Regions from separate parts of the Homo sapiens genome. Here all the other regions are linked to region 4. The links are contacts of gene promoters, found by promoter capture Hi-C in blood cells and fetal thymus (Javierre and others, 2016). All regions are on one chromosome and are shown on one strand. Each heading gives the region's core, a stretch centred on a gene start or on the middle of the fragment in contact. The rest is flanking DNA. Distances are from core to core; before and after follow the strand shown.

Region 1 (2,832 bases), core at 233-2,732, 460 kb before region 4:
AGCCCACTTTGAAATCTGCAGCATATATATATTTTTAAGTGAATAAGTACGAAGAGATGGGAAGATGTGGTTTGACTGTAATCCCACGTAAAACACTCTGACCCCAATTTTTAAAAAAGTATTTCATTAAAATGTTGTAGGAGACTATTACTGAGAAGAAGAAAGTTTCTAAGTTGATGGGACTCTTGTGTCTCCTAGTGTAGAGTTGATTTTGTTTTTTGGGGTCACCATGGAGATGAGAAGCATGGGGCTTCATGGCGTCATCTGCCCCCATTGGGGGAGGGCTTGTTGGCACAGGTCACCTCTGGATCAACCTCAGCCTCATCTGCTGGGGATGGGAGAAGCTCAAGTTGGCCAGGGGTTTACCCTATGCCCTCCTCAACCAGAATTAAAATGACCTTTTTTTTTTTTTTGCCTTCGAAGACAACATTGGTAACAATTTATTGAAACTATGGAGCTTAGCAGTGATCAGTTTTTGGATTTTCTCTTTCTTCAACCCCTCCCCTTTCTGGAAGACTTGTAGGAGGATAGGGGAGGTTTTTCTGTGCATAGATTGGCGTCGGTTTCTTAGAAGTTTCTTCTTTTCACCTTAAAAAAAATTGTTTGCATCCTTCCCCTTAGATAAGGAACCGTCAACATCCTTGTTAGAGCCCAGTGCGGAGGGGACCCTGAGGCACATACTGTTTTCAAGGTTAGATAGCAACAAACTTTCAGAGTAGCCGGAGTTTCAGGGGAGGGAGGGTTCTTTGGGTTCAAGGTTACCCATTTTTCCCCTGCTAGGAAGAAAGCCTTTTTGTTTTCTTTTGCCGACTTCTTCCAATAGCTTAGAGCAAATAGATTAGCAACCCAGCAGAAACCAAACCAAGGAACAAATAAAGGGGAAGTTTGCAGAGGGCCCTTGGCTGGGGGCTGGCTGCTGCTGAGGAGGCCAACTTGCGGTTTTCCATTTTCACGGTGAACCGCATTGTCTCAGCGTTCGCTGGTATTCACAAAATCAGAAAGAAAGGAAGGTGGTGGTGGGAGGGCGCACTTTTCAGGAGAGGCTGGGGTGTGGGGAAAGTATGCCCAGCTGCATGTTATTAGCAGCCTTCAAATAAAGTTTGTGGAAGGTTCCGGCCCCCACAGTCATGCCTGGGAAGCTTCTGTGTTCTTAGTAGGTGTTTTGAATTCTGTGGGATGGAACTGAATGTTTAAAAACAGTTACAGGAACGTCTCCCCAAGTAGGTATTCCTGAGAATTTCTGTGTACATGGAACTCTATTTTCTTAGCAAGCATCATTATATTTTTAGAAATGTTTTCTTTTCTCCTTGCCCGTCAGTTAGCCAAGCCTCCTACCACTCACTTTCTGTTGTGTAGTTCTGATTTTCCGAACAGGTGTTTAGATGATGAGGGGTTATATTAAGAAAGTACTAAAGAATACGTCTTATCACGTGAATCAGTATCTTTTTATTCAACATGGATGGAGTGGGAGTGGAGACCAATCTGTTTTATATTCCTGCAATCTGATGAGGGTAAGAAAAAGTTCATGCTGTTCATATTAGCTAGCCAGCCTCTTTCTGTCTTTCCCTCCCTTCCTTCTTTCTTCTTTATTTTTTCTTTCTTTCTTTTGTCTAATACCTAATTCCTTATCTCATTTTTGGGATTTTGAGAGAATAATTTTCATGTGGGGCGACAGAACTAGTGGTTGTAGTTTCACTTGTTTTTTTGACATTAAGGAAACAACAAATAGTCTTTTTTTTTTTTTCCTCAGACTGAGCACACATTTTAAGTGTTTTAGGGGGAAGCTCTGAAGGCAGTTTGTGGTGATTTTTAAAAAAATGTTTTTAAAGCTTTAGTCTCTCCTGGAAGCTTTGTGTGTCCCTGCATTTTCCTCGACGGTCGCTAATAAGAACTGCTGGTCTAAATCAGTGTCTCTGAGAGTCATTGATTCACTAATTGCTCATCATCGAGTCCTGGCTTCCCCCTCCTGCTGAGAGCACTTTTGTTTTCTGCTATTCTGCAAGGACTTGGACAGATTTCTGGAGTGTTTAAGAGGTAACCAATAAAAGAGTTTGGCGTGCCCCTGTTGGTAATTGTGCTTCTCGGAGGTGACCACGTCATTGGTATCCGGGCTCCATAAACAAGGGGCTGCCTTACCAGTGACCTTTCCCGCCTAAAACCGAAGGCCCCAAGGTCGCTTGTCTGATGGAGAATGTATTTCCCGGCTCACTGTGAGCCTCGACTTAATTTGTTCCTTTCCTAAGGCAAAATGACCTTCCAGTAAACCCACACCCCCTCCCCCGCTTATTATTATTTATTTATTTTTCTGGTGAACAAACAGAATTAGGAAAGGTGTGTTCTTCCAGGAGAGAGCGGGCAGTGTGGGAGGAGATGGCAGTCTGGCTCATTAAAATGCCGAGGTAGGTTTAAGCTGATTGCCAAGTGCGGGTCCTGCAGGTCAGAGTGTGATGCCCAGAAACAAAGCAAGGCCTAGGGAGAGGCTGGCCTGGAGGCAACTGGCTCGCGCCGCAGAGAGTTTTGAAGCCACATTTCTTCATTGGAAATTTAAAAAGAAAGAAAAAAAGCAGCCCCTTTTGCTCCATATTTATCATCTCTATAGTACCCTACAAATAAGTGGTCTCAAAAAGTTGTTTTTTTTTTTTTTTAATTTGCTGAACCTTTATAATAGGACCCTTTCTGAGGGCCCCGTGAGCCCAAGAATGCCTCCTTGCAATGTGAGTGTGGGAAATTAGTGCAGGCCCAAGGAAAGGAAGTGTGAAACTGCTTCCCTCAGTGAACACCCAGCCTGGCGAGGCTGTCCTGTGTGTCTTGGAAGCCCTGCTGGGCCTGAGT
Region 2 (2,700 bases), core at 122-2,621, 390 kb before region 4:
ATCTGTGGCCGCCCTTCCTATTTATTCTTTTGATTTCTGGAACTTAGATGTCTGAATAGAGGACTCGATGTTTGTTCCTTTTATTTTATAAAGGAAGTAGGGGAGGAAATAGGACTCTAAGACCTTGGCGGAAAAGAGAAGGGAAGCAGATGAAGAGGAGCTCCCAGGTGAAGGAGGGTGGAACCCTGATTCCTAAATGGGAACAGGTTTGTTCGGACTCACACACTGAGCAGCTCTGTGTTTCTTCTTGCTCTTCCATGCTCACAAAGGTCTGTGATTTTAGGAGGAGGTGTTGAGGGACCCTGGAAGAAAGATAAAGGGTAGGGTCAGAGGAATAAATATCAGCCAATCCCTGAATAATTGTCACCTTAAAAGGCTGTACCTAGACAGGGTTTGTGGTCTTGAAGGAGCCAGTTTCTTATGTTCAAGCTTCTTGGTCTCTTCTTGGTCCATGTGGATTTAACTTGGATGGAATCCCTCTGGCTACCAGTTTGCCTTGGCCAGAAGGAGAAGGGCTCCTCCTAGCCTCCTCCTCTGCTGCTTCAGCCCTGCTGGGCACTGAGCAATTTCACAGGGCGGTGTTAAGGATCAGGGTGTGGAGAGTAGGAAATTAGTAATGACTGGACTGGGTGAGGGTGACTCTTGTAATTTTAAAGAAATGTTTAAAAATTAATCGGTTCTCTGCTCTGCAGCTTTAAAAAAGTCAAGATGGAGAATTTCCCACTGTGACGCCTTTTATTTCTGGAAAGTTGAGTCATTTAATGATGATTTGAATATCAACAGTTCATTGGCCCATCTTTCCCCAGATAGCTCCCGAAAATGCGCTCTCCTCCAGAGAAGGACACTTTTCATTCCTTTAGTTTTCTGGCAACTCAAGTATAGCCTGGCCTCCTGTGTTTCCCCAGACCATTATCGGAGTTGTACTGACCAAATGGGAGTGGGTTTTCACTTGTACCCACTGCTCCTGTTTAAGTCTTCCTTGGACCAACTGTGGGTAGGTGTAAAGCAGGCATGGCTGTGACTTCCACATTGGATGGAGGCTTGATTGATTCGATGTGATTCCTTGGGTTTTCTTGGGGTTGTACTAAGGACTTGTGTGCCCAGGAGGACACAAGGCTAAAGATGGACTTGGTGCACTGATACATGGTTCAGTTAGGAACAGATAGTGGAGGAGCTCCTAAGACATTTACCTAAGATATTCTAAGGGAAATCGTAGACTCTTATTTCCTTTGTTATTTAGGGAGTAGTTGGTGGAGATGTAGGTGGTACCAGTGATGCCATTTCTCTTGTAGGAGCATTTGCTGAGTCAAAGTATCTATTTCCTCTGGAGGGTCCTTGAATTTAAGAGCTTCCAGTACCAGTAGATTGAAGATTTAGTCTGATTATAATTTTTTCCTTGGGTCTCAGAACATTAAGAGTATTCGAAGACCTGGTTCTCTTGTTTCCTCATTAATTTTGGTCCTGGATGGTGCAGGGGTTGGACTGACCTATTAAGTCTCCTTTTCCCCCATCCATGAGCAGTAAGTCTGTCATGGGGATCAGCAAACTCTTTTTTTTTATGTGTGTAAAGGGTCCAGATAGTAAATATTTTAGGCTTTCAGGGATCAGGATGCAATATTGAGGATTTTGTGTAGGTATTTAACATAACAAGAGAGAAAACATTTACGGAGAATTTTTACTGATGAAATTCAAAATATAATGACAATTATTGAGTACAGTTTTTTAAAATACACATTTGCTAATGAGAAGAATGGATTTTGTTTCAGGGGGCATAACATTTTGCTGAATTGGAGTACAAAGTTACTGTTTTCTATTATCAAGTCAGTTATAGATGTTTGTCAGTAAAAACCATTCTTAGTTCTCAGGTAAGAGAAAAACAGATGGCAGACCTGATGTGGACTGCATGCTATAGTTTGCCAACCCCTAGTCAGTAGCATAGCTCTGGTGATGTTAGTTTTGGTGTGGAAAGTGTAAGGACGTGGTATGGCCCAGGACCCCATGTTGCTCTTTGAATGGCTGGGAAGGTGTTTGAATGCCACAACACTGGAATTTTGTGTATTTAATAAATAGTGGTAGAGAGGCCAGGCAATAGAAATACAGAAGTGAGCAGGATGGTCAAGGTCAATGCCCTGGGAGAGCTTACATTCTAAGAGAGATGATAAGTGAATATAAAATTTGATTCCAGGTGGGGGAGGGGTGTTTAAAGGATGTCTCTCTGGGAGGTGATATTTGGATAGAGATCTGAACTAAGGGAGGGAATGGTCGCCAGAACTTTAGGTGAGGCAGCAGCAGAGGCAACATCTTGAGATAGGAGAAAGCTTGATAAGTGTGAACCTCCAGGAAGTGCAGGTGAGAGCAGAGAGGGTGTGATGAGGAAGGGGGTGGGAGAGGAGTTTGAGGAGAGAGGCAGGGGCCAGATACAAGGAGCCTGGGAGCTTGTATTAATACAAAGGAGCATGCGATGGGATGTTGTTGGAAGGATTCGAGCAGCCAGAGAATGATGCAGTATGATTAACTGTTGGAGAAGATCTCTCTAGCTGCTGGGCAGAGTAGACTCTAGAAGGCAAGAGTGGAAGTGGTTTTATGGGGCCACAAAACTGAGTGTTGAAAATAAAGATAGTCTGAAAAATGTGGAGTCTGTGACCAGCATATTTTTAAGATTGTCTTCTGTGTCATAAGTCAGGATCCTTCTGGTTTCAA
Region 3 (2,808 bases), core at 184-2,683, 440 kb before region 4:
AGGAGTTGGGGGACAGCCCCAGGCAAACATCAACACCTAAGATAGAAACCCCAAGGTAGAAACTGGCCGAGTGAGGAGGAGAGAGGGAGAAACAGCAACACACTTTTCATAGGGAGGGATGAGGGAAAAAGGACCACCAGGCTCCAGCTGGTGATCAGAGGCCAGAGCGGGGTTGGGCAGGACTGCTGGAGCACAGGATTCCCTGTCCGGTGTTCACGGGGAAGTCCCCAAATCTCAATGAGGGACCCATTGGCCAGGGAGGGTTCTGCTGTGGCTGTAGCTTTGGCGGGGGCGGTCTGTTTTACTACATGTTCAGCTGAGTGCTTTCCTGTGAAAATAGACCTTTGATGTTCTGGAAAATCTGCTTTAACACTTGGGGGAGAGAAGCTGCCTATGGAAGGGGAAAAAAAAGTTATGTTACGAAAGAATGGAATTGCACAGCTCGACATATGCTGGGTTGGTTGTTCTAGTAACCCCATGAGAAGAATTGCAGGACCAAACACAGGCTTTCATTCCCAAGTGAGAAAGCATGTTTAGAAACGCAGTGTGAAGGGGGAAAAATATCAGAGGCTAACATTGTGTTTCTGTTGTGAATACAACTATATAAATATTACCTGTGCTTATGGACAAGGTCCAGGAGGAACAGGGAAAAATAATAGTTGATTTCATTTGTGTGGTGGGATAGTGGGTGTTTTAAAAATTATTGTATTATTATTATTGTACAGGAAAAAATCTTTACTCAAATAATCCTGGCCTCAGCGGTCTGTTATTTTGCTACATCACTCGGAATACCTGTCAACACATTTATTTATTGAGTTCCTAATATGATGGGCCCTTTGAGGAAGAAGACACTAGTCCCTGCCTCCAAGAAACTTACAAACTATTATGGGATGCTAGACTGTAAATACCCAGGATGTGAATGATAGTTCAGTAGCGTAATGGGCCGTCACACAAGGTGTCGTGTGGTTAATTGTCAAAGGAAGTAGAAAACAGTACAGGCTCTTCCTGGGGTCTTTCAGGAGGATTTCTCAGAAGAGGTGGCCTTGAGAGAGTCCCTCAAGCATGGGAGGACCTGAATTACTAGAGGGAGGAGGGAAGGGAGTCTTGGAGGGAAGGAGCAGGGAGGGAGAGCTTTATCCAAAGGGGAACACCCAGAAAAATAGTTGGGAGCCATATTAAGAGCCCATTGATGGCTGTGCGCCATGGCTCACGCCTGTAATCCCAGCACTTTGGGAGGCCGAGGCGGGTGGATCATGAGGTCAGGAGATTGAGACCATCCTGGCCAACATGGTGAAATGCTATCTCTACTAAAAATACAAAAAATAGCTGGGCGTGGTGGCGTGCGCCTGTAGTCCCAGTTACTTGGGAGGTTGAGGCAGGAGAATCGCTTGAACCCAGGAGGTGGAGGTTGCGGTGAGCCGAGATTGCACCACTGCACTTCAGCCTGGGCGACAGAGTGAGACTCTGTCTCCAAAAAAAAAAAAAAAGAAAAAAGAAAAAAAGAAACCCATTGACTATCAGGATAAAGAGTAATTTTTTTTTTTTTTTTCCTTTTGAGACCGAGTCTCACTCTATCTCCCAGGCTGGAGTGCAGTCGTGTGCTCTCGGCTCACTGCAGCCTCCACCTCCCCGGTTCAAGCGATTCTCCTGCCTCTGCCTCCCGAGTAGCTGGGACTATAGGCGCCTACCAGCACGCCCAGCTAATTTTTGTATTTTGAATAGAGACAGGGTTTCACTATGTTGGGCCAGGCTGATCTCGAACTCCTGACCTCAGGTGATCCTTCTGCCTCGGCCTCCCAAATTGCTGGGATTACAGGTGTGAGCCATCGCACCCAGCCAGGAGAAGCTATTAAGAGTTTACCCAGAATTCCTCCCTGAGATTCACTATTTGTCAGTAGTCTTAAGCTATTTTTGGGTAGGTCCTCTTTCAGCATAGGGTGAAACCTCTGGACCCTCTCCTAAGAAAAATCCCCTTAGAACTACAAGAGGTCTCCCACAGAGGGGTTTTCTTAAGGAAGACTCCCCACAGCCCATCCTTGGCAGTGTAGCAAATATGTATCCAGCATCTACTGAGTGCCAGATGTTTTGTGGGACGGGGGGATACAGTAAAAATAAGACAAGCCAGGTCTTCGCTCTCAGAGAGCTTATAGTCTAAATGGAAGGACAGATGCTGAAGACGTGATTACAGGCAGGAGAGTGTTATTAGGAGGTAGACCAGATGCTTGGGAAGAGTGATAGGTGGCCCCAGCCTTTAGGAAAGGCCCCCTCAGTTGGGATTCAGAATGAGGATATTTAGGGGTACAGAATCCCACGGTGTGAGTTGCAGAAGGGCCCGAGCATCTGTCTGGTGGCACCTTCTCAGGAGGAACCTCACTGACCGGCATGGGTGAACCGTTCAGCTAGGGTCTTGGGGAAAGTCAGGCATCTCTGGAGCCTCCGATGTTGAGGATAGGGTAAGAGCAGCATTGTTCTCTGGGGCCCTTTTTCCTTAGTAACACACACTCACCCGGAGCCAGTTGTGCCTTCTTGCAAACAAACAGCTTTCAAGAAGAGTTAATAAATTAATCTTCTGGGAAAAAGAATCTGCTCTGCGCCAGCAAGACCTCTAGCAGCCAGGGCCAGAGACTTGGGCAATGTAGTCAAAACACACGCTGATCACTGTGTGTTACTGCTGACGAGGTTTTAGGCAGCCAGTTCGGTGCGTTTGATATCGGGCAGTTCAGGCAGGGTGAAGGAAGATAAAGTGTGTTAAATGGAGCTCTCACAACAACCCTGGAGGATCTAGTCCCATTTTACAGATGAGGAGCC
Region 4 (2,700 bases), core at 157-2,656:
GACTTAAACCATGGCCCTGCCACTTACTAGTGTGCAGACCTTGGGTACTGGACTTGCCTTCCTGCGGCCAGTCTCCCAGTGTGAACCATGGAAAATCAACACTCACCTCCAAGGTGCCTATGGAAGTAAGTGGGATGGTATGTGTGTGTTGCCTGATAAATGGCCAGGCACTGTGACAATAATTCCTGCTCCATGGATCGAACACAGAAATCAGTTTCCCCACTTCCTAGTGCCATCTCAGAGGTGTTGCATTATCGGTTGCTAAAGCTCAGCGAGTTCCACCCACACAGTCCCAATAAGCTCTGTCATTCCGATTGGCCAGTCTGCAGTCTAAATGGAAAGGAAGTAGAGGTAGAAAGAGGCAGCAAAGAAAAGTGAGATGTGACAGTCTAAGAGTAGAGGCAGACAGAAAGACCATACAGACAAGGGTTAGAATACTAAAAACAGAGCAATCTGGGGTAGTGTTAGTGCACGGGCAAGCAGTCCGACCCCTCTGGGGAGATCATGTGTTACGTGATGTGGTATCAGTTGACCAGGTGTTAAGTCTCAAATCATGAAAGCCTCAAATCATTCAAAAAAAAAAAGGTGAATGTTCAACACAATCAGTTTAAGAATATACTATACAAATAAAGAGGTATACATTGAGCAATAGTACCATTACAAACAGGAAAACAGTTCAAGTGAAAGTTACAGGGGCCTGACTCAGTACTGGGGTGCCTCCTTCCTTTAGAATGCTGGATAAATGGAATTTCACCAAAAAAAATATTGAAGTCTTTTTGCCTCTCAGCAAGGTGTTATTTAGGCAGAAGGAAAGCAATGGAAATGAGGAAGGGAAAGCAAGGGGGTAGGGACTTGGGGTTTCTCCTTCCGTTAAAAAAAATCTTCAACTTGGTGCTTGGCTAGTGCCACCCACGAGGTTCAGTCAGCCTGGCTCTTCTTGGTGGCACGCAGGGCGTCACGTCCCCTGTCCAGCAGCAGGTCCTCCAGCCGCTTGCAGTGCTCCCGGAGCTGTTTCTCGCGCGGCAACAGGAAGGTGAGAACCTTGTTGCGCACGATGCCACGGTCCTCCTCCTCCCTTAGCCGCTGCCTCACGCGAGCCGCCTGCTCCTCCTGTTGCACCAGGGCTCCATTCATCTCGCAGAAGGCGTCTTCAAGGTAATGAATGGACTTCAATGCCTCTTTCTTAAAGTCCTCCAGTTCCCGTTGCACCCCGGCCACCTTCTGCTGCAGGATCTCCAAGTCAGCGGGTGGTGGGAGGCAGGAGGGCCATGACTGGGACAGGGAAAAGTCTCCAGACTGGAGGCCACTCTCTATCATTTTTTTCCCCTGTAGGGTATTCACCGTCATGAGAATGGACCCAGCCTGGTAGAGGGGTTCCATTGTCTCTTCTACGTTGGACAAAGAGAGGAAGCCAAGAGACCAACCAGGTCAATAAATATTTTTGGCTAGAGACACGATCATTCGGAGTGGAGAAACCCTAGAATTGTGACATCAGGGCCCCTTCAGCCAACCAGAAAGAAAGCCACAATCCATTCATTTGCATATTGTAGCTTCCTTGGTTGGTTACCTAGAGCTTTGTCTGTTTATCTGACCAAGTCGCCCTCCTGAGATGTGGATCCTTAACTCATCACCCTTCTAGAACCAGAACTCAAGTTCTTCTTTAACCTAAGGAACAAACCAAGTCCCAGAGCAGGGAAGTAAACTGGCCAGAGCAAGGCAGGCCAGGCCAGGCTCACTGGCTGCCAGGACTGGGTGGTCTCCCACACTGGCAAGGGACCTGCATGGTCTTGGACTGGTCTCTGGGCTTTAGTACCTCACTAGTAAAACAAAGACATTGTAAGAGATGATACCTAATCCCACTTGTAGCTCTAAAATGCTAAAAAGTAATCTCTTATTCCAAGTCCATACTCCTATAATGATGTCAGAATTCTATAAAATCTTAGAAATTGCGAAAAATGTACTTAGATTTTGATGTATGGTCCACAGCAATGGCTGATTCAGCAGGTGCAAGGTAAAAATGGGTTAGTCATATTTATTCAATAAATACTAAGTGCTCACTACACACTAGGATCAGGGAACAAGTGAGTGCATGGTCTTCCAACATACCTGAATGTTAACAAATATGAGAAACAACACATAGAAAGGTAAATCTTGTACTTTTTACCTGATAATTAGAACAAAGGAAAATACTTCTAGCTAATCTACATTTGGTTTAGTCAGGAACAAACCTTCATCTTGCACATCTCAGTCTCTTGCCTAGACTTCTCTCCTGGTCTCCAAATCTAAACGTCTCCCCCACAATGGGCCTCCAATTCAAGCCATCCAAAGCTGAATTGGTGATCTCTTTACCCAAACCAGTTCCTGTTCCAGTGTTGCTGTCAGATTAATGAGAGCAACCCAGAACAGCACACACACCAGAGCCCTCATGAGACAACTGGTGCTGTGATGCTAATATTTGTCCCCTCCCAAACTCATGTTGCAATTTAATTACCATTGTAACAGGATTATGAGGAAGGACCTTTAACAGATGATTAGGCTACCCTTTAAGAGATAAATGGATTAACACTGTTATCTTGGGAGCAGGTTCCTTATAAGTGGATAAGTTCAGCCCCTTTATGTCTCTCTCTCACCCTCTCTTTGCCCTTCTACTATGTGATGTCTTCTGCTGTGGAATGACACAGCAAGAAGGCCCTTGCCAGA

What was found. The method cuts DNA at HindIII sites, captures the fragments that hold promoters and counts their contacts. A CHiCAGO score of 5 or more calls a contact.
Region 1: a contact is called between a fragment that was not itself captured here and the fragment with the promoter of CCDC182 in region 4, in 6 of 17 cell types (total B cells, naive B cells, total CD8 T cells and 3 more). The highest score is 11.1, in total B cells.
Region 2: a contact is called between a fragment that was not itself captured here and the fragment with the promoter of CCDC182 in region 4, in 1 of 17 cell types (naive CD8 T cells). The highest score is 6.4, in naive CD8 T cells.
Region 3: a fragment that was not itself captured here is called in contact with the fragment with the promoter of CCDC182 in region 4 in 5 of 17 cell types (total B cells, naive CD8 T cells, total CD4 T cells and 2 more); the score reaches 8.5 in total B cells.

What each region holds. Positions count from the first base shown.
Region 1 is chr17:57,284,502-57,287,333 of GRCh38, forward strand. All of the region lies in intron 5 of MSI2 (musashi RNA binding protein 2), which reads left to right. Among named protein-coding and RNA genes, the nearest start is that of MSI2, 29 kb to the left of the region's middle. RefSeq lists an enhancer at 337-606. The HindIII fragment of the contact is 690 bases long and covers 1,138-1,827 here.
Region 2 is chr17:57,352,320-57,355,019 of GRCh38, forward strand. The region is part of intron 5 of MSI2 (musashi RNA binding protein 2); the gene reads left to right. Among named protein-coding and RNA genes, the nearest start is that of MSI2, 97 kb to the left of the region's middle. RefSeq lists an enhancer at 2,633-2,682. The HindIII fragment of the contact is 1,889 bases long and covers 428-2,316 here.
Region 3 is chr17:57,302,886-57,305,693 of GRCh38, forward strand. All of the region lies in intron 5 of MSI2 (musashi RNA binding protein 2), which reads left to right. Among named protein-coding and RNA genes, the nearest start is that of MSI2, 48 kb to the left of the region's middle. The HindIII fragment of the contact is 8,097 bases long and covers 1-2,808 here.
Region 4 is chr17:57,743,893-57,746,592 of GRCh38, forward strand. CCDC182 (coiled-coil domain containing 182) reads right to left here and starts at 1,407. Exons shown (of 1, transcript NM_001282544.2): 1 at 603-1,407. The coding sequence starts at 1,380. The coding sequence ends at 919. The HindIII fragment of the contact is 19,296 bases long and covers 1-2,700 here.